6 separate regions of the Homo sapiens genome follow, and all the other regions are linked to region 1. The links are contacts of gene promoters, found by promoter capture Hi-C in blood cells and fetal thymus (Javierre and others, 2016). All regions are on one chromosome and are shown on one strand. The core of a region is centred on a gene start or on the middle of the fragment in contact, and the rest is flanking DNA. Distances in the headings are between cores, read along the strand shown. Region 1 holds the start of DDX23 (DEAD-box helicase 23). Region 2 holds the start of CCDC184 (coiled-coil domain containing 184). Region 3 holds the start of FMNL3 (formin like 3). Region 4 holds the start of BCDIN3D (BCDIN3 domain containing RNA methyltransferase). Region 5 holds the start of TMEM106C (transmembrane protein 106C). Region 6 holds the start of MCRS1 (microspherule protein 1).

Region 1 (4,795 bases), core at 109-2,608:
TTCTCAATAAAAAGTGGCTGCAGTTTTTGAAGATTCTGGCCTACCATGGTTGGTCTGATTCTTAGTTTAATCTGTGAATCTGTGAGTCGAGCGCCCTCTCGTGCTTTTGTGGTGAATTACACCTAACAGATCTCAGAGCTCTCTTCTTTCCCTTGCGTTCTCTCTGGAGTAGAAGCTGGGAGGTGAAAGGCTGCAGGTTCTAAGAGAAGTGTGTGTCTCCGAGGGTTACTTTGGGCCATTGTACGTGATGCTCAGGGCTTTAGGATTACTTGGGTCTATCCTGAGGCTCTGCTTGAGAGCTTGGGCATATTCAGAGAGAAAAGGCAGACCTACAGCCATGTGGAATTGAAGCAACAAACCTGCTGCTGGCAAAATGGGAAGGGAGGTCCGAGATACTTCTGGTTATCTAAACCGTTTCCGCAACTGCAATGTTTTGTTTTGTTTTGAGGGAAAGAGTTATGAACCCATAAGACCAAAGAGAAACACAAAGTGAACTTACGATTTGAGGTTAAAACAACAACAACAACATCAACAACAACAACAACAGCAACAACAAAACTCAGTGGAAGACTGAAGTAGGGGAATCTGGGGGAAGAAAGAAGCAAAAATACCAAGATAGCTCAACAATTGGTCACATTCCAAAGGGCAAGAAATTGAGGAAACCAGGGTTCCATCTGGAATGTTGAGAAAACAGGTGCTAGAGCCCAGGAGATACCATCCTTCCGGGAGGACTTTAGAGCCCATTGTGTGGGCTCATTTGGAGCTGTAACAATAACTGGGGGTTGTTATGGCATTCACCCGGCTGCAGGGGCCAAGGTTGCTAAAACGTCCTCCTAAGCCTGGGATAGTTCCACACACAATGGAGAACTGCATCACCCTCCTTGTGAACCTACTCCGGTAACCTGATCTTTAGTTTGTCCAACTGTAAAATGGGGCTAGCCCCATTCTCACAGAATTATTATAAAAACCGCTTTTCCACGAATGGTATTTATTGTTACTGCGGTTGTTAGCTATAATTACGTACTACAGATATCTCAGGAAGCCCTTAAATTCCTCCACTGTAAGCCACGGGCAAGGACAGTCATAGACCGTAGTTTCTAGGAAGACCAGCCGATTCCAAGAAGGGTGCTCGGCGGGAGAACCTAATGCCGAAAGCCTATTGGCGAAAAACTCTTCCTTCCCGGACGCTAACGTCTGGCAAACCACATTGCCCGGCAGACCCCGCAGCCTGGGGCCGGCGCTCAAGTCATGCATTCTGGGATTGGTAGTTTCCAGGCCTCAGTGTCGGCCTGTGCCGCCCAGCTCCAGGAACTCGCCTTCCCAGCTTGCCTCGCGGCCGGGGGGGTGGGGGGTGTTCATCTCCGCGACCAGGAAACGGGAAAGATGGCGACGGCTCCGCGACGTTGAGGCCGCGTTGGGCGGTTCAGACTCAGGGTGGTGAGTCCCGGGCGGTGGAGGCGGTTCCCACGAGCTTACAGAAAGGGCTAGAGTCAGGGCACGGCGGTGGCCCCTGCCTCCTGGATGAGGCGGGAAAGAACGCCTCAGAGAAGGGGCATGAACCCGGGAAGCTCGGGCGGGCTGGAGTGAAGGGGCGCGGGCCCCAGGGGTAGTGTTGGCTCCTCCGGGCACAGGCCACGTCCCTGCACGATATTTTCCTCCCAGGACTCTGCCTATGGGCACAGCGCCTCTGATACCCCCAGTCTGACCTTATTCTTTCATGCTTAAAGTAGCCTTTGGTGCAGCCAAACTGGAACTCTGGCTTTTCTCTCGCAGTCAGTCCATGTTTTCCCGCCTCTGCGCCGGCCGTATTATTTCTTTTGCCGGGAATGACTTCTTTTCCGCGTCCTTAATTACATATCTTAAAATTCTACTTATACTTAAAAGCTCAAGCGTCACTTCCTCTTCCAAGCCTTCCACATCACCTTTTACAAGTGAAAGGAAACGCCTTTGAACACCTGTATTACTACATCTGAGCCTTGATACTCTTCTTGGTATGTGTCTCATACCCCCTATTGTTCTTTTTTTTCTTTTCTTTTCTTTTTTTTTTTGAGACGGAGTCTCGCTCTGTCGCCTAGGCTGGAGTGCAATGGCACGATCTTGGTTCTCTGCAACCTCCGCCTCCCGGGTTCAAGCGATTCTCCTGTCTCAGCCTCCCGAGTAGCTGTGATTACAGGCGCACGCCGCCACGCCCGGCTAATTTTTTGTATTTTTAGTAGAGACGGGGTTTCACCGTGTTCCCCAGGCTGGTCTCGAACTCCTGAGCTCAGGCAATCCACCTGTCTCGGCCTCTTAAAGTGTTAGGATTACATGCGTGAGCCACCGCGTCCGACCTCATAACCCTGTTGTTCTAAACACTTCCTGTGAACAGAATTTATTTTTGTAACTCACATAGCACCTAGCACTGTGCCTTGCGTACAGTAGATGCTTGTTAAATACGTCATTGAGTGAAAAAAAAGAATGTGCCCCTGCCCTGCAAGAACTGAGGACCTGAAGATCTGGAGGTTTGAGAGGAAGGCTGCTGGGAAGCATGGCCAGAGTCAGCCTGGTTATTTGGCCCTTGTGATAATAGAACCTGTAATAAAAGTTGCCTGTATTTACTGTCTTCTTCTCATTTTTCATTCTCTTCCAAACTCATTCCACTCAGGCTTCCATTCCCGCAATGCAACTGAAACAGCTCTTGTCAAGGTCACCAATAATCTCCATTTTTCCAAATTCAGTGGTTACTTCCCTGTCCCTTATTCCCTCTCCACTTCGGTGGTACTTGACACAGTTGACCCCTCCCTCCTTGAAACATGTTTTTGGCTTCTTCGTTGCCATGCTTTTCTTTGTCTTTTCTCACTGGCTGCTAGTTCTTTTCAGTCTTTTTCTCTGGTTCATCCCGTGGCTAACTCCTGTTAAAGTGTTCCAGAGCTCAATTCTGGAGCTTCTTCTCTATTTTTTTTCTTTCACTATGCTGCCTACTTAGGTAATATCATTTAGTGTCCCATGGCTTTAAAAGCTATCTGTGTATTGGTGACTCAAGTTTTTGTCTACAGACCCTCTCCCCTAAGTTCAGATTTGCATTTCTCTTTGCCTTCTGGGAATCTCCACAGATATTCTCACACTCAACCTGGCCAAAATGAAACGTTTGATTTCCTCTTAAATCTGTTCGTTCCCTAGTCTTCTCCAGTTTGTTTGCTATGGCACCACAAACTATTAGGTTGCTGAAACTATAAATTTAGGAGCTATCTTTGTGTCTGCTCTTTCTGCTTCTTCCTTAGTAAGTCCTGTTAGCTTTGCCTCCAAAATATACTCTGACGCTGCCTACTTCTTTCCATCTCCATCGCCACGTTCCTAGAACAAGCCACTGCCATCTCTTGCCTAGAGTACCATAATAGCACTCTCAGTGGTTGTGTTTTCACTCTGTCTCTCTGCTATATATTTTCTTGCAAGTCACCAAAGTATTAGATTGCTTCCTGTTTAAAGCTCTTCTAAGATCCCCATTGCAGTTAAAATCCAAGTTAACTCTACTCTGACCTGTAACACATTTTCATTATCTGACTCCTGCCCAGCTCACTGAACTCATCCTGAATCAGTATTCCTCCTGCATTAGTGCTTCCCAGGGTCAAGAAGTCTTTCCACCTCAGCCTGGGCTCAGGTGATCCTCCCCAGGCAGGAGCGAAGGGGCATGGGCCCCATAGGTAGTATTGGCTCCTGGGGGCACAAGCCGTGTTCCTGGACGATATTTTCCTCCCAGGCCTCTGCCTATGAGCTCTTGAGCACTTTTGAGCTCAGGCATTCCACCCACCCTAGCCTCCCAAAGTGCTAGGATTACAAGTGTGAACCACCACACCTGGCTGATTTTTTTTTTTTTTTCTCTCGAGACAGAGGGAGTCTTGCTCTGTCACCCAGGCTAGTGCAGTGGCACTATCTCGGCTCACAACAACCCGCACCTCCTGGGTTCAAGCAGTTCTGCCTCAGCCTTCCGAGTATCTGGGATTACAGATGCCTGACATCACGCCTGGCTAATTTTTGTATTTTTAGTAGAGACGGGGTTTCACCCTGTTGGCCAGGCTGGTCTCGAACTCCTGACCTCATGATCTGCCTATCTCAGCCTCCCAAAGTGCTGGGATTACAGGCGTGAGCCACTGCTCCTGGCCTCCGGCTGATTTTTAACTGTTTATAAATGTAAAATTTTATTGTTCAAAATAGACGGGAAGTCTTGCTATATTACCCTGGCTGGTCTCGAACTCCTGGGCTTAAGTGATCCTCCCGCCTTGGCCTCCCAAGGTGCTGGTACTACAGGCATGAGCCACCAGGCCTGGCCAAACAAATATGTTTTTAACTGACAAACGTGTAGTTGGGCTCACACCTGTAATACCAGCACTTTGGGAGGCTGAGGCCGAAGGATCCCTTGAGCCCAGGAGTTCAAGACTAGCCTGGGCAACAAATTGAGACCTTGTCTCTAATAAAAATTTTAAGAATTAGTTGGGGCCGGGCATGGTGGCTCATGCTTGTTATCCCAGCACTTTGGGCACTCAGGGCGGATCACCTGAGGTCAGGAGTTTGAGACCAGCCTGGCCAACATGGTGAAACCCCGCCTCTACTAAAAATACAAAAATTAGCCAGGCGTGGTGTGGCACGCGCCTGTAATCCCAACTACTCAGGAGGCTGAGGCAGGAGAATCACTTGAACCTGGGAGGTGGAGGTTGTAGTGAGCCAAGATCATGCCATTGCACTCCAGCCTGGGCGACAGAGCAAGACTCCATCTCAAAAAAAAAAAAAAAAAATTAGTCAGGTGTGGTGGCATGCGCCT
Region 2 (4,977 bases), core at 623-3,122, 670 kb after region 1:
CCCCAAGAGTCCCTCAAATGTCCCCTAAATCTGGGCTGCTGCTGAGCACCCCCGAGTCTCTGCCTGTGAACCGGGCTCTTTGTTCTCTAAGCCCCAGGGAGTGGAAAAGCAATCCCAGATGAAGTCAGTGACAAGGCAGGATCCGCTCTGCATGCAAAATCCTAGAGGTTGAGCTATTATGTCTTCATGCACATTCATAGCCAGCTCCTCCCAGCCCAGGGGCCCTTGGAACCCCATTCACCCAGATTCCTAGGGCTGCAGTTCCCTCCTCAAGCTTCCTTTACCAATCAGCAGCCGCAGAGATCTGTGAGGGGGAGAGGCTTCTGCAGAGCACTGAATATCTTGGATTTCAGCAGAAGGGTAAATTTCCTGTTGCCAGAACAAAATACCCCCAATTCCTTAATTTCCAGGTAAATTGTTAGAGATTATTTGCCATGGTCCTAGGTAAGTCCTTTTTCAGAATAGAAAAAGCAGAATTTTATTTACACAATTCACGGGTTCTCCTGTTGTCTGGGAAGGGGGAAAGGACAGGATAGGGATGGATGGGAGTCCAGAGATGGGCGCTTCCTCTCCCGGAGCCTCACCTTTCCGCAGTTCGCTATAATTCGCTTAGTTGGGCAGAAAGAATTCTCGATGCTCCCAAAGTCCTTCACCCTACAAATCCTTCCTCGAGGGAGTCTCTCTCTGCCTGACCCACAAGAGCAGCTGTCCAAGTGAAGCATGCCGCACCGCGCCGTTCAGTCCCCCTCGCGTCATGCACTCGGAAACCCAAAGACAGCCCGGGAAGGTAGTGCCCCACGGAGTCCCCTCACAGGGAGGCCTCGCCCTCCAGTTGCAGCAGGGTAATGTCGGGCATGTCGAGGGGCTCCACAAGTGGCCCGTCCCCCCCAAGGAGACCAGCACAGGGGCTTTCGGGGCGCTCACAGTGACTGGAGGGTGTGGCGGGGCTGGGCATCTCCTTCTCTTCTTCCTCTTCCTCCTCGTCCTCGGGATCGCGACCCAGCAAGCCGCTGTCCCCGATCCCAGGCGAAGGAGTCTCCGGCTCTTGGGGGTCGCTCTGGAAGCTCCCCTTGCCGCCGACCACGCCCAAGCCGCCCTGGCGGGGCGCAGTGGTCATAATCTGGCACATGGAGACGATGGCTCGCTGGTTGGCGCACACGTCGTCCGAGAGCACCTGGATGTGCGAGGCCTGCTCGTCCAGGGCCCCCCTCATGGCCCTCACGTCCTCAAACAGGGCTTGCAGCTGGGCTTTCAGGTGCTCCATCAGTTCCTTCATGCCGCCGTTGTACTCCCCGGAGATCACGTCCCCCACTGCCGGCACGGTGGACACCTCCAGGGGCGCCGGCATGTCGCCGCCGTCCTTGGTCATGATCTCCAGCAGACCGTCCTCCATTGAGTGGCAGAAGCGGGTGGCGGAGGCTCTGGGTCGCGTCCAGCCCGGCCTCCGGGGTGGGGGAGGGGGTGGAGGGGGAGAGGTCCCGGGAGGGGCTAGCGGGAGCCGAGGGAAGCGGAGGCTCCCGAGACTGGCGGGGAGCCGACGTGAGAGACGAGTCCTGGGCAGAGGGCGCAGGCAGGATCGCGGGAGGCCGAGAAGAGGCTGCGGGACGAGGACCCGGCGAGGGTCCCAGAGCCGGCGTCTCTTGGGATCGCCCCGGGACGAAAGTGCCCTGCCCTGCCTCGCCTCCCGGATCGCGCCCGTGTCAGCGCCGCCCTCTGGGCGCCACAAGCAGAGAGCGCCTGCCGGTTCCGTGGGTCACAGACGCGCTCGCGGAGGGGTCCGCGTCCAGGCTGAGGCCAGCGGCGCGTCGGACTCGGGACTCCCCCAGGCCATTACCGGGCAGCGCCCGCGAGTGTGGCAGCAGCAGCTGGGGTGGGTCTCCCGGGGGTGTCGCGGATGCTCCTCTGTTTCCAAGGCGACGCACGGCACGTAAATGACGTGTGTCTCCATGGTAACCAGGAAGTGGCGAAGAAAAAGGGAGGATGGCTGGAAGCTGCAGTGGGGCTCTGGAGTCTGGACTAGCGGGGTGGGGGGAGGAGAGGGGACGCTACAGTGGCTTCGGCCAAGGCTGGAAAGAGCGTGTGGTCGCAATGTTTAATAGGGAAGTATGAGAGAGCCGTCTGCTGCAGAAACCTCCAAGTCCGGGAGAGATCGTCCCTCCCCTAGCCGGGGTATGAGACCCAGCGAGACTGCCCTGGAAAGATTTTTCCAGCCCGCATTCCTTTCTCAGAGGATGGCGCTAAAGTCGAGTCCTGCCTCCCTGTCCTCCAGCGATGCGCAGGAAAGCGGAGAGGGTAGAGAGGCTGTTGCTAATGATCCCAGAGTTGAGCTGGGGCACGGTGGCGCTCTGGAGCCGGACCCACCGGGCCTGACGGTGCAGAGGCAGGAGGAGGGCGCTACGGAGGTTTCTGCAGTAAATCAGCCCTCTAGCTATAGAAATCACCGGAGCGGGGGAAGGATGGGACTCCCTCCTTTATGAGACCCTACCGCTCCTACGCAGGTCTCTGGGAGTTTGTCCCAGATGGGGAGGCCAAGTGCTTAAGTTTTGAGAATGAAAGCTCCATAAGGGGAGAGATTTTTGTCTCCCCTGCACCCTCCATCACGGAATCCCCAGCTCCTAAAATAGTGCCTGGCACCTAGTATGTAGATGCTTAATATAGTTATTGAATGAATAACAAAAACCACCAAGTCCCACGCTCTCATCCAGAACTCCCCAAGCCAAACGTAGTGGGTTTTAGGAGACCTGAATTCAGTTTCGTTTCTGCCACTTATTCATTCAGCGACCTTGGCCACATCATTTTCCTCATCTGTTAGGGAATTGGACTGGATAATCTATAATACTATTTCTAATTCTGAATAACAGTCTGCATCATCTCACAGGTGAAAAGGTAAACTGTTGACCGTTGTGTGGAGGGTATGGATGGGGGGACTGTGTGTTAGAGTAATTCCCGCTCTCTCTTTCAGTGCCCAAGTTCAGACATACACTGAGTATCCCCAACCTTTGTGACAAGCCCTTTCCCTATTTAAGGGGTGGAGCAGGAAGGGTGGAGGAAGAAGAAAAATTGTCTTTAATATACGTAGATGATTGCAGATTGAGAAGGAATCAGCACCTGGGCAGAGCACAATAATTAATAATGACCCTAGGAAATTAGGGAAGCCAAGTGATCGGAAGCCAAAAATGAAGTTCATAAGAATAAATCTGGGAAAGAGAAACAAACTATATCACTTCAAGATAGAGAAGAACTACGTAAAGGTGAGTGTTTTGTAGACTGGCGGTTCAGTGACAGCAAATGTGTTACCTTTGGGTTTCCCTGGTTATGTGCTTGGTGATGAAGAGTGAGGCTGGCCCAGGGAAAGTTTTGTGACACTAGAGGACTGCTTGACCTATACCAATCTTACTGCTTTTAAAATAGAAACAAGTGGGGACTATCCTAAATGACCAGCAGCAGAATGTTTAAATAAACTAAGGCAAAATTGCTGATACATAAAGTATTATGCAGCCATTAAAAATTTGATTTCCCAAAACAAATATATGAACAAATTTTAAAAACACAGTATTGTATTTTCTGAAACTAATGATTCAATTCTATTTGCTTGCTCATTTCTTCCTTCATTCTACAGATTTCCAGCACTCTCACCTTGCTTAGGACTCCTACCTCTGCTCTGTACCCCACACGTGGTAATAACACCTTAGATTACTCCTGAAACTCTGGCTCAAGAGAGGACAGAAATGCTTTTCCTTGGTTTCCATAAGCACAGCTGAAGTGGGCTGGTGTTTACAAAGAGACTTTATTAAAAACTATAGGAAAACTAGAAATAGAAACAGAACACATGAAAACAGCTGAGCTTACACAGCATAAGTTTCTGATTATACTACAGCAAGCATGTTCTCAGGGCTTATAGGTCCAACCCTGCTTTCATCCTTCCGAGGAGAGCTCTGCTATAGCCAGAAAAGACTGGCATGGCTTTCAGACTTTCTGTCTAGGTCTGTTACTTTACATCTCTTGACAAGCACTTCACATGGAAGATTTCATCTTGCCAATTCACCCTTCAGGTATATCCCTACCTTCTACCTACAAAGAGTGACTCTGTCCCAGTGGGGGACCTCTCATTGTTGAAATCCCATAAGCTTACACTAAGCATAGCCCCCATACAGGAGGAGCTATGGTATGTCATCATACAAGGCCTTTTGCCACTATTCTTGAGGATGTGAAGGCTTTCAGCATAAGATTACATCATGCTGTCCAGAGGTGCTGGCCATGAAGTCCACTGAGAGTACAAGGGATCTGAGCCCAGAGGGAGGGGAAATTATTGGAGAAGCACAAAAGGCCATGGGAAACATGTGCAGAGATCAAGCAGTTTGGCTGGTCCAGTCAAGTTCCAGGTCAAACATTTGAGAGCCAAGGGTAGGTGGGAACTGGGGGAGTGGACCAGTAGCAGGATTTGAAAATATAGGAAGGTGGCTGGGTGCGGTGGCTCATGCCTGTAATCCCAGCATTGTGGGAGGCTGAGGTGGGTGGATCACTTAAGATCAGTAGTTTGAGATCAGCCTGGTCAACATGGTGAAGCCCTGTCTGTACTAAAAACACAAAAATTAGCTGGGCATGGTGGTGGGCACCTGTAATCCCAGCTACTCCAGAGGCTGAGGCAGGACAGTCGCTCAAACCCAGGAGGCAGAGGTTGCAGTGAGCCAAGATTGTGCCACTGCACTCCAGCCTGGGTGACAGAGCAAGACTTAGTCGAAAGAAAGAAAGAGAGAGAGAGAGAGAGAGAAAAGAAAGAAAGAAAAAGAAAGAAAGAAAAAGAAAGAAAAGAAAGAAAGAAAGAAAGAAAAGAAAGAAGGAAAGAAAGAAAGAGAAAGAAAGGGAAAGGGAAGGGGAAGGGGAAGGAAAAGAAAAGAAAAGAGAAAAGAAAAGAAAAAGAAAATATAGGAAGGAGACATTGGTGCATCTGATAGAAAACCAGATCATTTCAGGAAC
Region 3 (4,613 bases), core at 1,296-3,795, 860 kb before region 1:
CCCTGGTTCAAACCATCTCTCACCCAAATGATTGCACTAGCCTGCTAACTAGTCTCCCTGTCCATACTTCTATTGGTTTGTTTTCAATGCAAGAGCCAGAGTGATCCCTGTTACAAAACATGTTAGATCATACCACTCCTCTACTCAAAATCCTCCAATGGCTACCTATCCTACTTAGAGAAAACCGAAGTCCTCACACAATAGCCTACAATATCCTACACAATATATGGCTTCTGGTTACCTTTCTGACTTCATCTTTCACTACCCTTTTCCTTGCTCATTGCACTCCAGCTACACTGGCATCTTTGCTGTTCTTCTAATACATCAGAGATAGTATGCACTTGCCATTCCCTTTGTCTGGATAATTCTTCCCTAGATAGCCACATAGCTTATTTCCTTGCATCCTTCAGATCTTTATCCAAATGCTATCTTATTAGTGAGTCCTTCCTTGATCATCCTATTTAAAATATTTATTATGAGGGAGGGGAAGAAGGAGCCAATGCAATGACTAGTCTTTATTGGAGAGAAGATACTTTACAGCACATTTTGAGCAATTAGTGCCAGGGCTCACTGGGCCAACTTGTGGGACATCAGCTTGTAATGGGTTCATAGTTAGAGCATCACTGGGTCTCGCCTTTGTGCAGCCAGAACCAGTTGACAGCACTGTTGTCCTCTTCACCGATGCAGCTCACTATTATCTTGGTGATGGAGGGAGCTGTTAGGGTCTTCCCTGGTGCCTGAAGCTGCCTTTGGGGGTAATATATTGTATGGGTCCAATCTCATACATGGCTGTCATGAACTCCCTCTCCAGCCCAGTCATCTGCTTGTCATCAGTAGGAACGCCACCTCCAGATGCCATGAAGCACACTGCAACCACCCCATTGGGACTGTAAGCCCTCAGGCCTATGCGGCTAGCGCTCCAGCTCTGAAAATTAACCTTGAAGCCATCATGCCTGTGACAAGCAACAGCTGTGTTTATTTATTTATTGAGACAGAGCCTCACCCTGTCACCCAGGCTAGAGTGGAGTGCCATGAACATGGCTCACTACAGCCTCAACCTCCTAGTTTCAATTGATCCTCCTGCCTCAGCCTCCCAAGTAAGCAACTCTATTTAAAATCTTAATGCCTCTTCCATCTCTATCACCTTTCAGTTTTATTTTTATTAACACTGATCACTAACATCTATACATTTTACTCGTCTAGTTTATTGTCTACCTTTCCTTCTACACAGATTGTGAATTCCAAGAGGACACAATGTATATCCTGTTTGTTCGCAGATGTACCTTCAATGCCCAGAATAGTATCTGGCATAGAATAAACTTTCTAAAATAAATATTTGTTGAATAAATGAATTAAAAATCTAGGTGATAACTTCAGGCATGGTTAGATCCAGGTTCTTGGCATGTCATTAGAATTTTGTCCTGTCTCATAGCTTTTCTCTCCTCTGCGCTGGCTTCATTCTCAAGCAGGCTTGATGTGTTACAGGTGATGATAAGACGGCCACCAGCGGCTGCAGGTTTACATTCTAATAATTTTGCAGCCTAAATGGAGAGAGAGTGAGTGCCTCTTTCCTGATTGTTTCAGAGAAAGCCTTGGATATATCATATTGTCTGGGCTTGGGTCAAGTGACAATCCCTAAAACAGTGTCCATGGGTAGAGGAGGAAAATGTTGTGACTGACTGGGCCTGGGTCATGCGGTCCTTTGGAACTGGGGATAAAATTCAGCTCCATTTAGACTGAGAAGAGGGGAGAGGTGGTTTCCTAAAAGAAAAGGGGGTGCTCTCACTGGAAGAAGATGGCGGCTAGACAACAAATTTCCACCGCAAATGTCAACGACCCAGCCGCCGACTGAGCCCAGAACAGCGTTCTTCTCCCGCCTCTCCATTTTCACACGCAGCCAGATGGTTAAGCTTCTCTCCTCCCAAACGTTTTTTCCCCTGCCTCTGTCGGGTAAGGGCTTCCTCATCCCTCAATGCCTGGTCCAACTATGATCTCCCTCACCCCGACTCTTAACAGGTACTATCTCTCTCCCTCTTCTGAGTATCCTGCTTGTTTCTACTTCTCTTGTAGTTAGTTTTGTACGCCATGCCTTGTATAATATTTTACTTACTTGTATACATCATGAGTTCCTTTTGAAAAAGGGTACGGTCCATTCCCGGTGTGTCCACGCCAGCCCCTCACGCCCTCTGGGAACCGCGGTGATTCGATGCCGGCTGAGGCCGCCAGGGAGCGCTCGGCGCCCGGCACGAGGCCGTCAAGGGCGGGAGGCGCTGTGATTGGCAGACGCGGCCGTCAATCGGGCGCAGGTGGGGCGGGCCGGGCCGCCTGTGAGGCCTCTGGGCGGGAGGCGGGGCCTGCATGAATGGGGCGCGCGTCGCGCGGGCTGCAGTCGGCGCTCGCGGGGGAAGCCCGAGTCTCGGCCGGGTGTGGGTGGGAGGAAGCGAGGTTGGCGGGGGAAGGGAAAGAGCGCGGGGGGCGGGGAGGGGCAGCGCCCGGGCGGCGCGCCGAGCGCGGCGAGGCGGCGGGTGTGAGCAAGAGCCGGCCGCCTCCGTCCGCCTTGCTTCGGTGCGGCTGTCCGCTACGCTGCCTCCGCCCTCGCCGCGCGCCCCCGCCAGCGGGACTCCAGGGAACCCCCGGCGCCCTCGACGGGGCCGAGGAGTCGGGACTCGGGGAGCCGGCGCTGAGGGAGGAGCCTGGTCGGAGCCGCGGAGCCGAAAGCTCCGGAGCGTGGAGGTGGGGGGCCGAGGCCCCTGAGGGGGCCCCGCCGCGATGGGCAACCTGGAGAGCGCCGAGGGGGTCCCGGGAGAGCCCCCCTCTGTCCCGTTGTTGCTGCCGCCCGGCAAGATGCCGATGCCTGAGCCCTGTGAGCTGGAGGAAAGGTTCGCCCTGGTGCTGGTGAGAGCTGAGCCCAGCCCCTTCCCCCGCGTACCGCCCCTCAGGTCCCGACGCCCGGGCTGGGACTTTGTGCTGGGCCCCCGTCCCGCCCACCCTTTCAGTCGGGGTCCCGAACGGATCCCGGCCTCCAGTGTCTTCCCAGGAACCTCTGAGCAGCCGCTGGCCGGCCCGGACAGCCCCGTCGGGGATCTCGGGACCGACGCCTCCACCGCTGGACCCTTAGGAGAAGTCCCCAGTTCGGGACCGTCCTAGGAACCAGGCTTCTCCCTCCTTCTTCCTCCCCCTTCTGCTGCCCTTTTCCCGTTTCCCCGCTTCTTCGCCAGGCTCCCCGTCCCTAGCATTCTCAGCCCGGAGCCTCTCGCGGGTGGGGGGAATTCAGAAGCGCGGCCGGCTCGCTCCTCAGCAGGCTTCCCTGAGTGGGGACACCGCCTCTCCTGCGAACATGGAGGCTTCCCAGGGAGTGGGTCCCACTCCCAGCCCAGACCAGATGTTTGGGGGGAGAGGGGGATGGGGAGGCGGCTGGCAGCTCCTGAAGGGGGTGGAATAAAGAGTATGCCATTCTGCTTATTTTCAGAACGGCCTGCAGGCATCCTGCTAAGTTAGAGTGGATTTGCCTGAAAGGCTGAACATGTGGATAAACCATTTCACTGGGGTATTTCTCCAAGTGAAACAATACACAAACCATCCCGCCTCCTCCCCCCCTTTTCACGTTAAGCCATAGTGACTGGTTTGTGTTGTTTAGCCTGTGCTTTTTAGTCTTTCTGTGGGTTTCAAACGGTCTGTATAAATGGGTTTTTAGAGCTGACTTTGGGATTCTTCTTTGGTGTGGGAATTGGACATTGATGTCAGTGGCTCTATGAAGCGAGAGGTTCTGAGCTGGTATCACCGGGAAGGAGCCAGAAAATATGTTTGCGCTGAAAATGAAGTTTTGCAGAGCGAAAACATTGGTAAACCGGGGTTAATCTTTGAGAAATTTGGGGAAATAGTTCTCACTTCCCCAAAGAGTTTTCTAAGAAGCAGTAATAATTCTGGCGTTATTGTTGGTATGGCCGACTCTGCCTTTGCCTCTGCCCATCAGGAGGGATAAGTTGTGGACTTAGCAGCCTTATTGGATTTCATCTGCCTTGGAATAAGGAGATTAGATCTGTTGGCAACAGTGGAGCTGTCTAGAGATCTTGGCCTCTCCGATGGTAGAGAATCTGACATCAGCCCACTGGCACCAGAGCTGGCTCAAAGAGGGTCCACAGTGTTCCAAGGGGAAGTGGTGTCGCTGGCACCTCTCTGCCCGCCAGCTCTGCGAAGGGCCAAAGGGATGTGGGCCATACATCCTGTGGCCCTCTGCATTTCCCCCAGCCTCCTCGGGGGATCGGGTGAGTCAGTGATTACCAATGTGCTGTGACCATCTCACAGGCTGAGGAGGAGAGACTGGGACTTAGTGGCCTTGAGAACAAGAGCCCAACTGTTGGGGAAAAGAGTGGGAGGGGATCTGCACTCTGGTGGGGGTGTGAAAATCCCCAGCAAGCTGACACAAGTTAGCTATAGAAACTGGGGAGAAAGGGATGGGGTGAGGTGGATTGGGTGGGAGGCTGCCTTAGGTGGGAGCTGCCAGGCCATTTTTTGTGAGAGCTCAGAACCAGAATCCATCATGTTCTCATTGGCCCTTGGTTGACCATTTCGTTTAGTTAGCAAACTAATGGCTTAATATTCACAAAATGCAC
Region 4 (4,639 bases), core at 1,089-3,588, 990 kb before region 1:
CTGGGATTACAGGTGTGAGCCACCACACCAAGCCTATAGAAAATTTGTTGTGATGCTTTTAGTAGTCAGCTTTTCAAAATTTGTAATTTGTTGTGATTTCTCATTATAAATAAATATTCACTTTTATACCTGTCTTTATATTTGTAAGTTGGTGGGAGTTTTTTCCTTAAAGAGGGCGCCCCTTCTTCCCCTTTCCCTTGAAATTATATATGCATCTCACTCCATAAAACCTGGCTGACCAAAGTGCAGAGCGAGCTCTTAGGTGCTGCTACAGCTATTTAAGGTGCTGGGGCTGGTATTGTCAAGTATTGTCAAGACACCTGTGCTGTTCAGGCTCTGAAAAGTGGTCATAGGTTAGAAAAGTTACCAGAGTGGATCAAATTAAAACACCTCTTTATGAGGTCACCTGTCAGGCATTTTAGATTACCAGTAATGTTACGAGGGCCTATCTTTGCTTCTGGAGGAACCCCAGGGTCAGGAGTTCTTGCCATTCACTGTCCTGGAAGCAAGGTGATTCCAGCTCCTTGAAAATTGTTAATTATTTGTGCTAGCTTCATCTAGTGACAAAAAGAGGTAAGTTCAGCTCAGCTCACCAAAATTTGTCAAAACGGTGCAGCTTTTTCTCCTTTTCTGTAATTGTGCAGAATACTGTGGTTTACTAAATTCCAGAGTGACTTTTATTAACTTGTGTCCTCAAATAAGTGAAACTAGAGAAACAGCAGGCCAGATAGAGATGAAAATATAAAGGCTGGGCGTGGTGGCTCTCGCCTGTAATCCCAACACTTTGGGAGGCCGAGGTGGGCAGATCACGAGGTCAGGAGTTCGAGACCAGCCTGGCCAACATAGTGAAACCCCGTCTCTACTAAAAAATACAAAAACTTAGCCAGGAATGGTGGCGGGTGCCTGTAATTCCAGCTACTTGGGAGGCTGAGGCAGGAGAATCACTTGAACCTGGGAGGCAAAGGTTGCAGTGAGCCGAGATCATGTCATTGCACTCCAGCCCAGGCAATAGTGTGAGACTCTATCTCAAAAAAAGGAGAAAAGAAAAAGAAAATATAAAGTAAAAACTGAGAGGAAAACAGCGCTTATTTTAACTCCTGATGGTACTGTTTGCAGGAGTCATGCTCCAGTGCCTTATAAGAAGTTTACCGAACTGCCAGCCTCATGGAGCAGGATACCCCTTTAAGATGGGTGGGCCAGGTGCAGGGGTGGGGTTGGGGGTCCTGCACAACTCTGCTGATGCTTGGTTGACCCTGACGGATATTCTGGGCCATCCTGGCTTTTGACTGGAACCTGCTACCTAGGTTGACCCTTCAGTTCCTCTCCTTATCAGCTCTGTTATTTCCAATCTCTGAGTCACATCTTGCCCAACTCCATTCCACTATGTCTGCTTCAGTTGGCATCCTTTCTCCCTTCCATTTAAAGTTTCCCCAAACAGATCTGGCCTTATTGTATTCTCTATTGAGTTTTCATTCAACAACATTTGTTGAGCATCTTTGTGCCAGGCCCATGTTAAGTATAGGAGACTCAAGGCTGAGAATAACACACCGTTGCAAGCACATCCTCTGGATCCAAACTCCCTGGGTTCGAATCCTAGTACCATCATTTCTAACTGTGGGATCTTGGACAAGTTACTTTGTTTTACTCCAGTGTCCTCATCTATATAAAAAGAATAATAATACGGTCATTTTCTCACGGGGTGAGAGGATTGACTAAGGAGCTTACAAGGGTGTCTGGTGCCTGGTAAGCACTCTTTAAGTGCTGGCTCTTAAGGCACGGTCCTTGCCTCTCAAGGAGCTCATGGTCTACAGTTGCCCCTGGGGGACAGGGCTGAGTCGGCTGGCTTCGCAAGTGACCTGCACCTCCTGGCTACCCTTTCCTGAACCGGGTGGAAGTTTTTGAGTCACAGATTCAATGTATGACCCCAGACAAGTAAGTTCTCTCGGTCTCACTTTTTGCATTTATAAAGAAAGGAAATTGGACTAAAATTGATTTCCAAGATCCCAACAAACTAGTATACTTGTTCTGGGTCAAGTAGCCCAAGTTTCAAACTATGTCAGCTTGGCCAAGACACTTAGCCCTCAGAGTTTGTTTCATCCCTGTAAAACGTGGATGATATTGCTAATCCCCTCCCAGTGTTGTGATGAGGGTTCAATAATACAAGGCAAGCCCCAGGCGCTCGCCGGCTCCAGGTATACAGCGAGAGGAAATCAGGACAGCTTTTCTGATTCACCGCAGAATTCTAGCCACCCGCCCTAGCCGTTCGACGCACGCGCGCTGGCACCGCCACCGCCCACGCCGACAGCAGGTTCCCGGCTTCCGGTTCCGCCACGGCCCAGAGGCTGTGTTGAGGCTAATGGCGGTGCCCACGGAACTGGATGGAGGGAGTGTTAAGGAGACCGCAGCGGAAGAGGAATCGCGAGTTCTGGCACCTGGCGCCGCCCCGTTCGGAAATTTTCCTCATTATTCTCGCTTCCACCCTCCGGAGCAACGGCTCCGCCTCCTGCCCCCGGAGCTGCTTCGACAGCTCTTTCCTGAGAGTCCCGAGAACGGGCCGATTCTGGGGCTCGACGTGGGGTGTAACTCCGGGGTGAGTGACAGGGGAGGGATTGGAGCATCCGGAGCCAAGTGGTTGGCTGCCTACACATCCACTGTGGTTCTGGCCTGGGCTAACACCCATCGAAACTTTCCCAAAACGAGTATAAAGCGTGGCTTTGACTGAGCCAGTGCCGCTGCTGCCTGCCCGCCAGGGTTCCACCATCTGTCTTAGGAATCTCTCTTGGAGAGGAGTCCTTGTCGACTACGTTCCCACTTTTCTTTCAGGGCCAGACCCCAGGTGGGAACGGTCCTTGTATCTAGGGTGGCCTCTGTCCAGCGTGCCTGGCGCTTTGGCTGGGGAGAGGGGGCTTCCAGAGACACACGTTTGGGAACATGGGGTTAGGTTTGGTTTACTGGGAGAGAAGAGCCAAGGGTGACAGAATCATGCCTGATATTGAGACTCATGTGTGCTATACAGTGCAGGACAGACCCTGGGACCTGCATGTTTATTTCAAAAAAAGTGAGTAGGCCGGGCGCGCTGGCTCACGCCTGTAATCCCAGCACTTTCGGAGGCCGAGGCGGGTGGATCACAAGGTCACGAGATCGAGACCATCCTGGCTAACACGGTGAAACCCCGTCTCTACTAAAAATACAAAAAATTAGCCGGTCGTGGTGGCGGGCGCCTGTAGTCCAGCTACTCCGGAGGCTGAGGCAGGAGAATGGCGTGAACCCGGGAGGCGGAGCTTGCAGTGAGCCGAGCTAGTGCCACTGCACTCCAGCCTGGGCGACAGAGCGAGACTCCGTCTCAAAAACAAAACAAAACAGTGAGTTGACAGAGTACAGTGGAGAGGATCGAGAAGCAAATAAAGCATTTTGCCCAAGGGAATGGAGAAGGGCGGCACTGCCACTCTTCTTGCTGCAAACTATTCTTAGGCATATGATTATAATCAAACCACATGCAAAATAAGGAAATGTCTCTCCCACACCTATTTGTAGCCACTGGGATATTCTACACTAGCAGGCAGTCTGAACTTACCACGGCAAATGCTTCAAAAGTTAGTACCCTCTCTGCGCTCCCTCCATCACTCCAGTCCAGCATCTGGAGGGCGGGGGACAATTCTGTTACGTTGCTGTCCTTTTACAGAAGAGACTTTGGGGGACGACTTCAGACCTTGTGGGACTCAGATGATAGTAGGAAGGGGACATTTGGATACAGTCTCAAAGACTGGAATGAGGAGATGGGTTGATGTCCTGTGTCCCCTGCAAAATTTCTCCGCTGTGATGATACGGGAAGTCAGAGGGTAAAAACAATGGAAAAGAGAGACTGAGGTTAAGGCTTGGGATTTCACGAAAGGCATTAGGAAACCACCAGAGATTTTAAAGTTGAGAGTAGTATACACATGAGAGGTAAAGACATAGTTGGCAGCTAACTAGGGTAGTGGTTCCCAAACCTGGCTGTACGTTTATGGAGCTTTCTGTTTTGCAGTTTTTAAAAAATGCTTTTTCTTGTGGATCTTTGTAGTCAGGAAAGGGAAAAAAAATGCTTGCGCTTGATAAAACAAAAAAATTCAAACTACAAAGGGGTATATACTAAAAAGTAAGTCTCTACTCCCAACCCTAAATCCTCCTTTTCCCCCACACAGTGGCACTACTGTTTATAATTTCTTAGGTATCAGTCTTGTGTGTATACCAGCATTTACGTACATATAAGTACCCCCCTTTTAGTTTTACAAATGGTAACACACTATTAGTAGCTTTTAATTCTGAGATTATTTATATCACCACATTCTTTTTTTAGCAGCTTCCTAATGTTTCATTGGATAGATGTACCATAATTTATGGGTGCTTTTTTTTTTCAATTTTAAAAACTCCTTTCCCAGCCTGGGCAACATGGCAAAACCCCATCTCTAAAAAAAATTAGCCAGGTGTGGTGGTGGGCATCTGTAGTCCCAGCTACTTAGAGAGCTGAGGGAGGAGGATCGCTTGAACCCAGGAGGTCGAGGCTGCAGTGAGCCTTGATTGTGCCACATACCCCAGCCTGGGTGACGAAGTGAGACCCTGTCTCAAATAAAACAACAACAAAAAACCCAAAAAACTGCTG
Region 5 (5,157 bases), core at 831-3,330, 890 kb after region 1:
TAAAACTCCTTTAAACACTGTTTGCACTCTGGGAAGAAAAGCTGAAGAAAGGAGCTATGTGGACAGAGACAGTCCCACACCTCCCAGAACACTCCACTTTCCCAGTTTCTTCTGATTCCATTCCTTGACCTTCAAAGCATTTCCAGCTTCAAGTTTCTTTCCCCAGATTGTGATGGGGGCAGAGATATCTTGCTTGGGCAAACAGTTATAAGGAAAATGGGGAACTTATAAGAACATGTGTAGTTTTCAAAGAATTAACTGGCATTCATACATACAGAAAGAGATTAGGGACAGAAGTAGGTATTAACAGGTGAGAAGCAGGTAACTCACGTTCGCTGAGGGCGCAATCTCTGATCACTGTGTGGGATCAAAGCCACCAACTCATTTACTTGCTCTAGAAAAGAGCCAAACAATTATTTTGTAAATCCCATGTGTTGGCAGTACTTCCTTCACGTCTCACTTGAGCCTGCCACAACAAATATTCTTCTGGAATGAGACATTTTAAAAAATACTAGTGAAATTCACATGTTGGGTCTAATGAACAAGAAACAAGAGAGTGCCACAAATTATAAAACATCTATCAGTGCTGCCAGGGTAGTGATGTGGAAGTTGAAAAACCTGGGATCCTGTTCTGGCTTTACTGCATGGGCTTGGCAGAGTCGTCGAATCTCTCAAGGCCATGGTTTCCTTGCCTTTCATATGGAAGCTTTGGAGTAAATGATTTTGAAGGTCCTAACCAGCTCTAAATTTCTGTGACTCTCCAGCTAAACTGTTAAAGACTTTCTGAGGGCCAATTTGTTAATAGTAATAGATGATCCTGTACCAAGGCTAAGTATTTGTCTCTCTCTCTTGACCTGATATATTTTTCTGACCTTAGGCTGTTAAGGATTAGCTACCCATTTCCTTGAAAAGCAGCTTCCAAGATGGTTCCCCCGCAAAGCTGTCCCAATCCTTGTGACAGCGATAAAGAAATGTGCCTGTCAACAAATCCCACAACACAGAGCGAACTGAATGTTCCAAACCTCAGGAAAAGAACAAGAGTGGCGGTAAAGAAAAGAAAGGGTTGGAAAAATAAGGAGAGGAAGAGAAGTTGCAGAACTGCCCAAGTGTATTAAGTCAGTTGAGCTGGCTCCTGTCCAGGGCACTGTCTCTATTATGGTATTACTGCCTAGAAGAAAAGTTGTCTGGGCAGACAGGAGAACTCCGAGGGTACCTTGGGATTCTCATCAGGGAATCATCCCTCCATGATCACCTGTTGGAATGTAGCCTGTCCCCTGGCACGTGAGACAGGTGATGCTATCTCTCCCGGTGAATTCCACATATGGGAACTGAGCAATGGCTTCTTCCTGCTCTCGTTCAGCCAGCAAACCGTCCCTGTCATCTTCTTGCTTTCGCCTGCAGGAGGAGGGGCGAGCAGCAGCGGAATGCTGAGACCCCATGGCCGTGATATGCCACTGGTGTCATGTCCTAAGATGAAAAGAGGGAGTGCACGTTAGCGGCCCCAGTGAATCACGACAGAAATCGCTTGTTTCTATAAGAAAATTAAAAACGCAAAAATGACAAGTTGCCGCCCTGAGTGTGGTCCCAACACCTGTACGATTTCTATCGGGACCCTCATTTTGTAGTAGTGCTACCCACTCTCCTCTTACCCGCCACACACAGCCGGCGGGGGTGGGGAGGGGGAACGGGGCCTGCCTTTCACGCACCTGCCTCGATCCTCACCGCCCTGGGACTTGGGGCACCCCCGCTCCCACCTGGTCCAGCCTCGCCCCTTCCTCTTCACTATTTGTAAGCTCTATGCCCCTCCTCGAGCAACAAACAGGCACCAAATTGATAACCGGCCTTAACGATTCCCATTCCTCTCCACCCCCCAGCCCCAGGAGGCGGGCTCAGGTCACGCCCCTTGGCAAAAAGCGATGCTCTGAGCCCACCAAAGTGGCCCAGGCAGGAGCGAACGCCAGCGTCGCAGACCTGCAGGGCACGAACTCCCGGCAGCTCCTCTCCGGCCGCTCCCCCGACCACCTGCCAGCTTGAGGACTTACCAGCCTCTTCGGTCGGCGGAGCGGCACGCACTCAGCGCGCAGGCGCCAAATACCAAGCCCGCCAGGAGAACGCGGGCGCGCGCTCGCGCGTGCGCTCTTCGCGGCTCCGGAGGCCTTCCCAATATCGCAGCTGTCTGGCTCCCTCGGTTCCGGTAGAGGGCGGCAGAGAGCGCCGGGGAGCCGCGACCCTTGCTGTTGGGCCGCGGTAGTCCGCGGAGTCGGGATGATGCTCTGCTGTTCGCTAGATAGGCTGGGAAAGGCTCCAGTCAAGTTTCCAGAGCAAAACACTTCTCTGCTGCGAGAGGAGGAAGGTGCTGCCGGCTACCGAAGCCATTCTGAAATATTCTTTATAGTACAGGAGCTGTGTAGTCGCTGAGGGTACACACATGCGGAGCATTCGGATAAACTGCCTTTGCAAAAATTGTAAGTGAGAAAATTATGACAGTGAAAGAGATCTGACTTACCCAGTTCCGTCTTGCTTCTAACCTCCGAACTGCCCTTGTTCATTCCTGGGTATAGGCCAAACTAACTTTGGGAGGAATTTAGTTTATAGTTGAACTTCGAAGCAAAGATAACAGCCCTTCCCCAAAACAAACCCCCTTCTTGCCTGGGGACCAGACTGCCTTTGTAAGACTAACAAATTAGCCACAAGATTAGAAATTATGGTTTAGGAGTCATCCAGACAGAGGTCACAAGATTCCAAACCTTCCCTATTGCTCCAAGGGATAACATCACTATTGTAAAATCTAAGATCGGTGCTGGGGATATTTTTCAGACCCTGCATTCTGAGGCACCAGCTGGCAGTACCTAGACCAGTTATCTGGCTCAGCCAGTTCTGCAATCCCACCCAGGAACAGAAAACAGCAAGAAGAACCCACTTAGACCCCCCTATGATTTCATCTCCAACCTGACCAATCAGCACTCCCCACTGCCTGATACCTACCAGCCGAATTATCCTTAAAAAACCCCAGTCTCTGAATTATCGGGGAGACTTATTTGAGTGATAAAACTCTGGTATCTCATTCAGCCGGCTCTGCATGAATTAAAATCTCCATTGCAATTCCCCTGTCTTGATGAATCAGCTCTGGGCAACGGGCAAGGAGAACCCGTCCGGCAATTATATCAGAACCTGTCTTCAGTCCAGGAGGGGAACCCAGAGGCTTCATCAGACCCCTCCAATACTGTAGATAAAAGTGCTGCTGGAAGTCTCACAAGTCAGAGGGGCCCAGCCTGGGGGAAACCTTCCATGGGGAGTCCTGCTGGCTTCTCGCAGGAACGGACCCCACAGCTGAGCTTTGCAAGCCAATTAGGTGCCAAGAGGCACCAAGGAGTAGATTCATTCGGTAGTAGGGCCCCCCCTTCCCCAGACCTCCACAAAAAAGGCACGTACGTAAGAGGTTAGAAAGCACTTTTCGTTCGTTTGTTTGTTTGTTCGTTTGTTTTGAGATGGAGTCTTGCTCTGTCGACCAGGCTGGAGTACAGTGGCACAGTCTCAGCTCACTGCAACCTCCGCCTCCCGGGTTCAAGCGATTCTCCTGCCTCAGCCTCACAAGTAGCTGGGATTACAGGCGCACACCTCCACACCTGGCTAATTTTTGTATTTTTAGTGGAGACCGGGTCTCACCATGTTGACCAGGCTGGCCTCAAACCCCTGACCTCAGGTGATCTGCCCACCTTGGCCTCTCAAAGTGCTGGGATTACAGGCGTGAGCCACTGTGCCCGGCCTAGAGGGTACTTTTTAATGGGTGGGTTTCTTTGTTCATACTGCCAGGTTGAGCTTAGCCTGCAGCAGCAGGAGTTGAGTACAGACATTAACCAGGTGAAATTATTAAAGATGATGCTAGGGGAGAGGAGATATTCTGAAATGGGATGAATAAGGGGCCCACTTGGCAATAGAGAGTGAGGCTGAGGCTGGTGACCCCTCAGGTTTCTGCCACCTCTGTATTTTCCTCTTTCTCCTGTGGGGAATGCCAATGTACCTGCTGTTGTCTAGCCATCTGCCTGACCACTGGCCACAATCAGCCCACTGAGTCTTTAGTAAGAGGCAACAAGGACCCTCTACTTCCCCTCTCACATCTCTGATCCACCTCTTCTCCTTCTTGAAATGTTTTTTTTTTTTTCATCTGTTGGGTCACAGAAAACGATTCCCCAAAATATGGTGTTTGAGCATACGGAGTGCTTTTGAGAATTAAAAGAAAACAAGCCTCAGAATCAAGGTACCTCTAACCTTGTCTTGTTCCTCCGCTCAACCCCAAGCATAGGGGAAGACTCTCTCTGGAATTTCCTTGTCTCACCAAGAAAGCTTTTTTTTTTTTTTTTTGAGACAGGGTTTTGCTCTGTCGTCCAGGATCAAGTACAGTGGTGCCATCACAGCTCACTGAAGCCTCAAATTCTGGGGCTCAAGCAGTCCTCTGTGAAACAAAAATAAAGCTAAGTCTTCTCTACCCCCAGCCATCTGCATGGACCCCTCCTCTCAGCCAAGGGCATTCCAAAGTTAACCTGAAAAACTAGTTCAGGCCATGATGGGAAGGGGGAGTCAGACATGCCTCACTACCGTTGTGAAAGAAAAATAAATTTCAGGACCCCCAAATCATGAAGTCAAGGGAAAAGTCAAGCTGGAGACTATGTCAGGCAATTCTGCCTCCCATTTTATTTCTAAATAAGGTAGCTACAAAGATCAAAATTACATATCCCCCTCACAATTTGCCCACAAGGAATTTCCTTGTGGACAAAGGACAGACATGACTCAAAGTCATCTTTCTGAGGCTCACCTGAGACAAATGTGTATTCGATTGCCTCCTCTGCCCTACGGTGTATGTAAAAATGCAGGTGTACTGAGCCAGACTAAATTGTGTATTCAATGGAAGGCGGATGTAGGACTCAAAAGAATGCAACCTTTTTTCTCTTATCTATTTCTGACCTGAAAGACCCCCACCTCGGCACCCTTCGAGTTGTCCCGCCTTACTGGACCCAACCAATGCACATCTTACACATAATTATTGATGTCTCATGTTTCCCTAAAATGTTTAAAAGCAAGCTGTACCTGACTACCTTGGGCACATGTCGTTAGGACCTCCTGAGGCTGTGTCACAGGAATGTCCTTAACCTTGTCAAA
Region 6 (5,205 bases), core at 1,322-3,821, 720 kb before region 1:
CCTGAGAACTTTCATCTAGTATAGATACTATACTATATATACTAACTATAGCTAGTATAGTCCACCACGCTGTGTAAACAGAAAACACAATCTTGAGCAGGAAGCTGCCCTTTAGAAATCCCTGCATCCATACCACAAGGGTGCCTAGGTTTCTTTTTATCCAATAGTAGGGAGGATTGAGGACCAGAGGGGAAGTTTGAGTTTCCAGGTACCAAACAGGAGATGATGGTGACCACCACCTTTCCCTCGTGACACCTTGGGGGAAGGAATTACCTCAGGCAGCTGGAAGCCAAGAGTTTTCCTTTCTCCTCTTTCACTCAGGAAGTTGTGGCTCAGTGCAGTGGCTTACGCCTGTAATCCAGCACTTTGGGAGGCTGAGGCGGGTGGATTATTTGAGGCCAGGAGTTCGAGACGAGCCTGGCCAACATGGCGAAACCCCGTCTCTACTAAAAATACAAAAATAAGCCAGGCAGGTGGCAGGCACCTGTAATTTCAGCTACTTGTGAGGCTGAGGCAGGACAATCACTTGAACCCAGGAGGTGGAGGTTGCAGTGAGCCGAGATTGTGCCACTGTACTCCAGCCTGGGTGACAGAGCGAGACTCTGCCTCAAAATCAATCAATCAATAAAAAGAAGTTGTGTAGAACCTATTTTTTTTTTCATTGTAAAATATGGCCGGGCGCAGTGGCTCACACCTGTAATCCCAGCACTTTGGGAGGCTGAGGTGCGTGAATCATTTGAGGTCAGGAGTTTGAGACCATCCTGGTCAACATAGTGAAACCCCATCTCTACTAAAAACACAAAAATTATCCAGGCATGGTGGCGCACACCTGCAATCCCAGCTACTCAGGAGGCTGAGGCATGAGAATCGCTTGAACCCGGGAGGTGTAGGTTGCAGGAGCCGAGATCGCTCCACTGCACTCCAGCCTGGGTGACAGAGGAAGGCTCTGTCTCAAAAAAAATAAAACAAAATTTAAAAACCATGTATTAAAAAACTGGAAAATAATTAGAGAGAAGAATTACTACTACTACCACTTGGACATGTGTTAACATTCTGGTGCATTTCCTTCAACTGTCTTTTCCTTTGTATGTTTTTAATAGTTATCATGAATTCATATATATTTAATAACATTAATATTATTAATGTTCTGTGTAATCACTTTTTATAAAAATTATTTCAGGCCGGGTGCTGTGGCTCATGCCTGTAATCCCAGCACTTTGGGAGGCCGAGGCAGCCTGATCATGAGATCAGGAGTTCAAGACCAGCCTGGCCAACATGGTGAAAACCTGTCTCTACAAAAAAAAAAAAAAAAAAACTTAGCTGGGCATGGTGGCACGTGCCTGTAATCCTAGCTACTCGGGAGGCTGAGGCAGGAGAATTGCCTGAACCGAGACCCGGGGGCCGGAGGTTGCAGTGAGCCGAGATTGTGCCACTGCACTCCAGCCTGGGCTATGGAGCGGGACTCTGTCTCAAAAAAAAAAAATTTCATTGGTTTTCTGATATTTTCACAAGTTTACATAATATATTTAATCAAGTGCCTGTTAAAAAATAAAACACACACTCTTTCATGGGAGTTAAAATAAGTACATACTCATTAAACAAGTCCACAGAACAGTAAATGAGGTTGGTACTCTCGAAGCAGAGGGCCATAGTATACCGTCAGGGCCAAAAGGGCCAGTCTCTCATTTGACACTTGAATTCCCTAGCAATGTCCATGTTATGTGTTCTTGACACCTCTGATGGACAGCTTTGGAACTGAATCTTTCTTATTCTGAGCTGAAGTATGTCTCTCTATAGCTGCTAGACTTTAGTACCTCGCAAAGGAAGCATAAAACAGAATTCCTCTTTTAGACAACAGTCTTTCTAGTTTTCCGGAACATCTCTCACAGCCCCAAATTCCCAATTTTTCCGACAGGTTCGTTCTCCCACCCCAAGATTCCTTCCAAGGCACTCTCCTCTGAAGGTGCTTCCATTGGTTTTCTCTCTTACCTCCCGGCGACCACAAGTGGCCCCAGCCGTCCAGGTGGGGTCCGGCTGACGGGACCAAGTCGACACTACTCCTTCTCGCAGGGTCTCTTCCTTCTCAGTAAAGCGGCCCACGATCCTCCATCCGCTCCTCAGAGAGCCTCTCTGCCCTTTCTGTCCGCCACATCTCCCTGGCTACATTATCTCCCCGACTAGTGCCTAGCAGGCGGGCCTGATAGAAGTTTCTCTAAAGGCTCTGGAGGAGTCAAACAATGCATAAGGTCCTGTGCAACCCTCAGACTCCTATACCTCGTGGGAATTTGGAAGTCGAAATCCAGTCCGCGGTCCCGCCCCTCCCCGGGTCGCCTCAATTAGCCCCGCTCGGTCTCGCCCTAAGTCTCGCCTTTCCCTTTAACCAACCCCTCAAGCCGGGTTACCTCTCCGGTGCCTATAATCCTTAACGTTTCCCTATATGCTGTCCCAACTAGGAAAGCCTTTACTTTCCGCTATTGGTAAAATATTTACACTTTCCGTACCATGGCCACGCCCCCTTCACACACGTTGCCAAGACGAACCGGAAGAGATTGCCAGCCCCCTGGTTCGTTAACCGGAAGTAGACGTACCTCACGGAAGCCGGCTTTGGCCCTGCGGCTGCTACCGTCGCCGCGGAGAAATTGTTGGATCTGGCAGTCTAGGAATGGTGAGACCTCGCGGTTCGCCTCTGAGGGTTCTCAGAGGAGTTGGGGATGAAATGGAGTTTTGCAGAGTGCCGCCGGGGACGACCACCCCCCAAGTTTGGGGCCCCGCCCCAGTGGCGCCCCGAAAAGCTGCGCATGCGTGGGCCGGACCGGGTTAGAATCTGGCTCGAAGTGTTACGCATGCGCAAAGGCATGGAGACCGTGGGGTGAGAATGGGCTTGCGAGTTTACCCCCACCTCCCCAGCCACCAGCCTGTGGGTCTCAAACCAAGGCTACTTGGTGCTCTGCTTTGAGTTGCAGAGGTGACTTCATCAATGCTCCTACCCCGAGTTCTTGAGACAGACCTGGACCGATCCCCTACCTTGGGTGTGCACTCTTGGGAGAACGAGGGGCGGAGGGTCCGGTAAGGAAGGGGCACAGACCCTACCTCAGTTTGCCGGCAAGCTCGGGCCCCTTCGCCCTCTCCTCAGATGTCAAGATTCTTAGTCGTAGCCTATGGAGCGGAGAGCGACAGGCTCACCTGGGGACAGGGCTAGAACACTGAGCTAAGAGCCACCCTGGTTAGAAGTGGGGACTCACGAGAGGAGCGCCCCGAGAAAGTCCAGTACCTGGGTTCTCTAGGGGTTGTTGGGGCACAGCGTGGTTGATAATCACGCAGTTCCCAAACAGTGGTTTTTGGTTTCCACGAGATGGTATCTCATGGAAATACCACTTACTAAATCTTCAGTAAAAACCCCAAATGGAAAAGAAAAACAAAAAAAAAACGAGATGGACTGGTTGGAGTTTTGTCTCCCTTTCTTTTTTCCTGCTTTGGCCTGGGAGGGGAAGGCTGGTGCTGCTGAGCTGAGTGGACAGCTGAAGTAAAGAAAAATGTGGGCCAAAGAATCCCTTGTCTCTTGCTAGTTTATAGTCAAGGCGCTTAACCTAGGAGATACCAGTAGAATTAAAGGGTCTATGAACCCTCTAAAATAGTATGTGTTTGCACCCTTTTCTGCAGTCCATAGCTGTTATCATACTCTGAAAGGTGCCAGTGACCTTCACAAGACTGATGTCTAAGGCTATTATTGGCAGAGTGGGGCCTTATGCCTCTTTCCTGTCCTTATGTCTTCCCTAGCTTATGGGACCCTGGGGGACCTGAGCCAGTATAAGGAAGTGAGGCTGGCCAGTTGGAAATCTGAGCCTCAGGGAGCCTCATTTCTCCTTTGCAGAATCTCCTCTCAGCCTTTAAGCTCACCTGGTCAGAATCCTTGGATGAGCCTGTGGGACCGTTCCTCCTAGCCCGGTGGTTTGGAACCAGTGGCTTTGGGACTGTAAGAGGATGGACAAAGGTAGTATGAGGCCGGGACAGCTCCCCAAATGCTCGGGCGCCAAGCATCTGCTGATTCCACTCTGTGCCTGGCACGTGTGTCTTTCGGTCCTGGCTAGGCCTTGCCACCTCCCCCTGGGCCAGCACCACCCATGTACCTGTCGGCAGAGCCACAGTTGACTGACTTGCTGTTGAGCTGCTGCTCTTTAGCACGGCTGCATTTTGATGGCAGAGGGAGCAGTTATGCCCAGAGCCCAGCGTGTCGGCATCACCAGTCTGACCTGAGCACCATGTGCTGCACGACATGACACGTGGCACCGGGGGAACTGCCCAGCGTGGAAGGTCTGGGCCAGGTCTGAGCCCAGATGGGATCTGGATGGCCAAGGAACTCTACCTTAAAACCTCAAGTGTCAAGGAGGCAGGGGAGGGGCCAAGAGGGCTGGCAGGGGAAGGGGGCTGGGGAGGGGTCCCATTTGCAGAGGCTCTAGGATCTTAGGAGGCCCGAATCCACCATTTCTCTCTTGCTAGATTCTCAGGGGCTGCTAGATTCATCCCTGATGGCATCAGGCACTGCCAGCCGCTCAGAGGATGAGGAGTCACTGGCAGGGCAGAAGCGAGCCTCCTCCCAGGCCTTGGGCACCATCCCTAAACGGAGAAGCTCCTCCAGGTAGTAAGGGTTCGGAGGGCCAGGAACTGGGAAAGGGTAGAAGGTCTGTGGCGTTAAGTGCCACATGCCTCCCCATCTGTTGGGAATGGCTGCCTGAGCCCCTCTGGGGCCTTAGTATTGGCAGAGCCTTGTGCTTTTCCTGTCCCTGCTAAATCCTTCCCTGTGGGACTGAGGGCAGGGGAGGGAGATCTTAGGTCTCTGACGTGAAGTCTTTGTGGTGTGATACCCTGTCATCTCAGAGGGCTGGAGTGTAGCAGTTCCATGGCCACAACCAGGCTGTGGCGTAAAGTGAAAGCAGGCTGGAGCAGATAGCACCCTACTGGGCACCTGCTCTCTTTTGGGGGCTGGGGGTGTGTGAATGGGTACCAGGGTGGGGTAAGGAGTGTTCACTGGGCAGGACCCTTTACAGGTTCATCAAGAGGAAGAAGTTCGATGATGAGCTGGTGGAGAGCAGCCTGGCAAAATCTTCTACCCGGGCAAAGGGGGCCAGTGGGGTGGAACCAGGGCGCTGTTCGGGGAGTGAACCCTCCTCCAGTGAGAAGAAGAAGGTGAGGAATTGGGAGACTTAG

Evidence for each region. Contacts are between HindIII fragments. The CHiCAGO score rates a contact against its expected background, and 5 or more counts as called.
Region 2: the fragment with the promoter of CCDC184 here is called in contact with the fragment with the promoter of DDX23 in region 1 in 5 of 17 cell types (neutrophils, fetal thymus, naive CD8 T cells and 2 more); the score reaches 11.6 in neutrophils.
Region 3: a contact is called between the fragment with the promoter of FMNL3 here and the fragment with the promoter of DDX23 in region 1, in 9 of 17 cell types (neutrophils, naive CD8 T cells, naive B cells and 6 more). The highest score is 10.9, in neutrophils.
Region 4: a contact is called between the fragment with the promoter of BCDIN3D here and the fragment with the promoter of DDX23 in region 1, in 8 of 17 cell types (neutrophils, total B cells, fetal thymus and 5 more). The highest score is 13.5, in neutrophils.
Region 5: the fragment with the promoter of TMEM106C here is called in contact with the fragment with the promoter of DDX23 in region 1 in 4 of 17 cell types (fetal thymus, neutrophils, M1 macrophages and 1 more); the score reaches 9.4 in fetal thymus.
Region 6: a contact is called between the fragment with the promoter of MCRS1 here and the fragment with the promoter of DDX23 in region 1, in 10 of 17 cell types (neutrophils, naive CD8 T cells, fetal thymus and 7 more). The highest score is 13.8, in neutrophils.

What each region holds. Positions count from the first base shown.
Region 1 is chr12:48,848,726-48,853,520 of GRCh38, reverse strand. It overlaps DDX23 (DEAD-box helicase 23), which reads left to right and starts at 1,358. Exons shown (of 17, transcript NM_004818.3): 1 at 1,358-1,437. It overlaps LOC105369755 (a long non-coding RNA gene), which reads right to left and starts at 1,800. Exons shown (of 2, transcript XR_944925.3): 1 at 1,707-1,800; 2 at 972-1,471. RefSeq lists enhancers at 224-433, 1,313-1,502. The HindIII fragment of the contact is 5,632 bases long and covers 1-4,795 here.
Region 2 is chr12:48,180,539-48,185,515 of GRCh38, reverse strand. CCDC184 (coiled-coil domain containing 184) reads right to left here and starts at 1,872. Exons shown (of 1, transcript NM_001013635.4): 1 at 1-1,872. The coding sequence starts at 1,393. The coding sequence ends at 809. The HindIII fragment of the contact is 3,853 bases long and covers 277-4,129 here.
Region 3 is chr12:49,705,337-49,709,949 of GRCh38, reverse strand. FMNL3 (formin like 3) reads left to right here and starts at 2,545. Exons shown (of 26, transcript NM_175736.5): 1 at 2,545-2,895. The coding sequence starts at 2,770. LOC124902929 (a long non-coding RNA gene) reads right to left here and starts at 2,224. Exons shown (of 3, transcript XR_007063299.1): 1 at 2,111-2,224. It also overlaps the pseudogene COX5BP5. RefSeq lists an enhancer at 1,962-2,111 and a silencer at 2,132-2,901. The HindIII fragment of the contact is 3,771 bases long and covers 1,913-4,613 here.
Region 4 is chr12:49,840,805-49,845,443 of GRCh38, reverse strand. It overlaps BCDIN3D (BCDIN3 domain containing RNA methyltransferase), which reads left to right and starts at 2,338. Exons shown (of 2, transcript NM_181708.3): 1 at 2,338-2,590. The coding sequence starts at 2,357. It overlaps BCDIN3D-AS1 (BCDIN3D antisense RNA 1), which reads right to left. Exons shown (of 3, transcript NR_027501.1): 3 at 4,290-4,639. RefSeq lists enhancers at 1,996-2,055, 2,626-2,995. The HindIII fragment of the contact is 7,812 bases long and covers 1-4,639 here.
Region 5 is chr12:47,960,519-47,965,675 of GRCh38, reverse strand. TMEM106C (transmembrane protein 106C) reads right to left here and starts at 2,080. Exons shown (of 8, transcript NM_001143842.2): 1 at 1,972-2,080; 2 at 1,253-1,467; 3 at 331-394. The coding sequence starts at 1,439. The HindIII fragment of the contact is 3,638 bases long and covers 709-4,346 here.
Region 6 is chr12:49,565,508-49,570,712 of GRCh38, reverse strand. MCRS1 (microspherule protein 1) reads left to right here and starts at 2,571. Exons shown (of 15, transcript NM_006337.5): 1 at 2,571-2,665; 2 at 3,872-3,991; 3 at 4,498-4,636; 4 at 5,046-5,184. The coding sequence starts at 3,982. RefSeq lists enhancers at 2,072-2,121, 2,472-3,275. The HindIII fragment of the contact is 9,561 bases long and covers 1-5,205 here.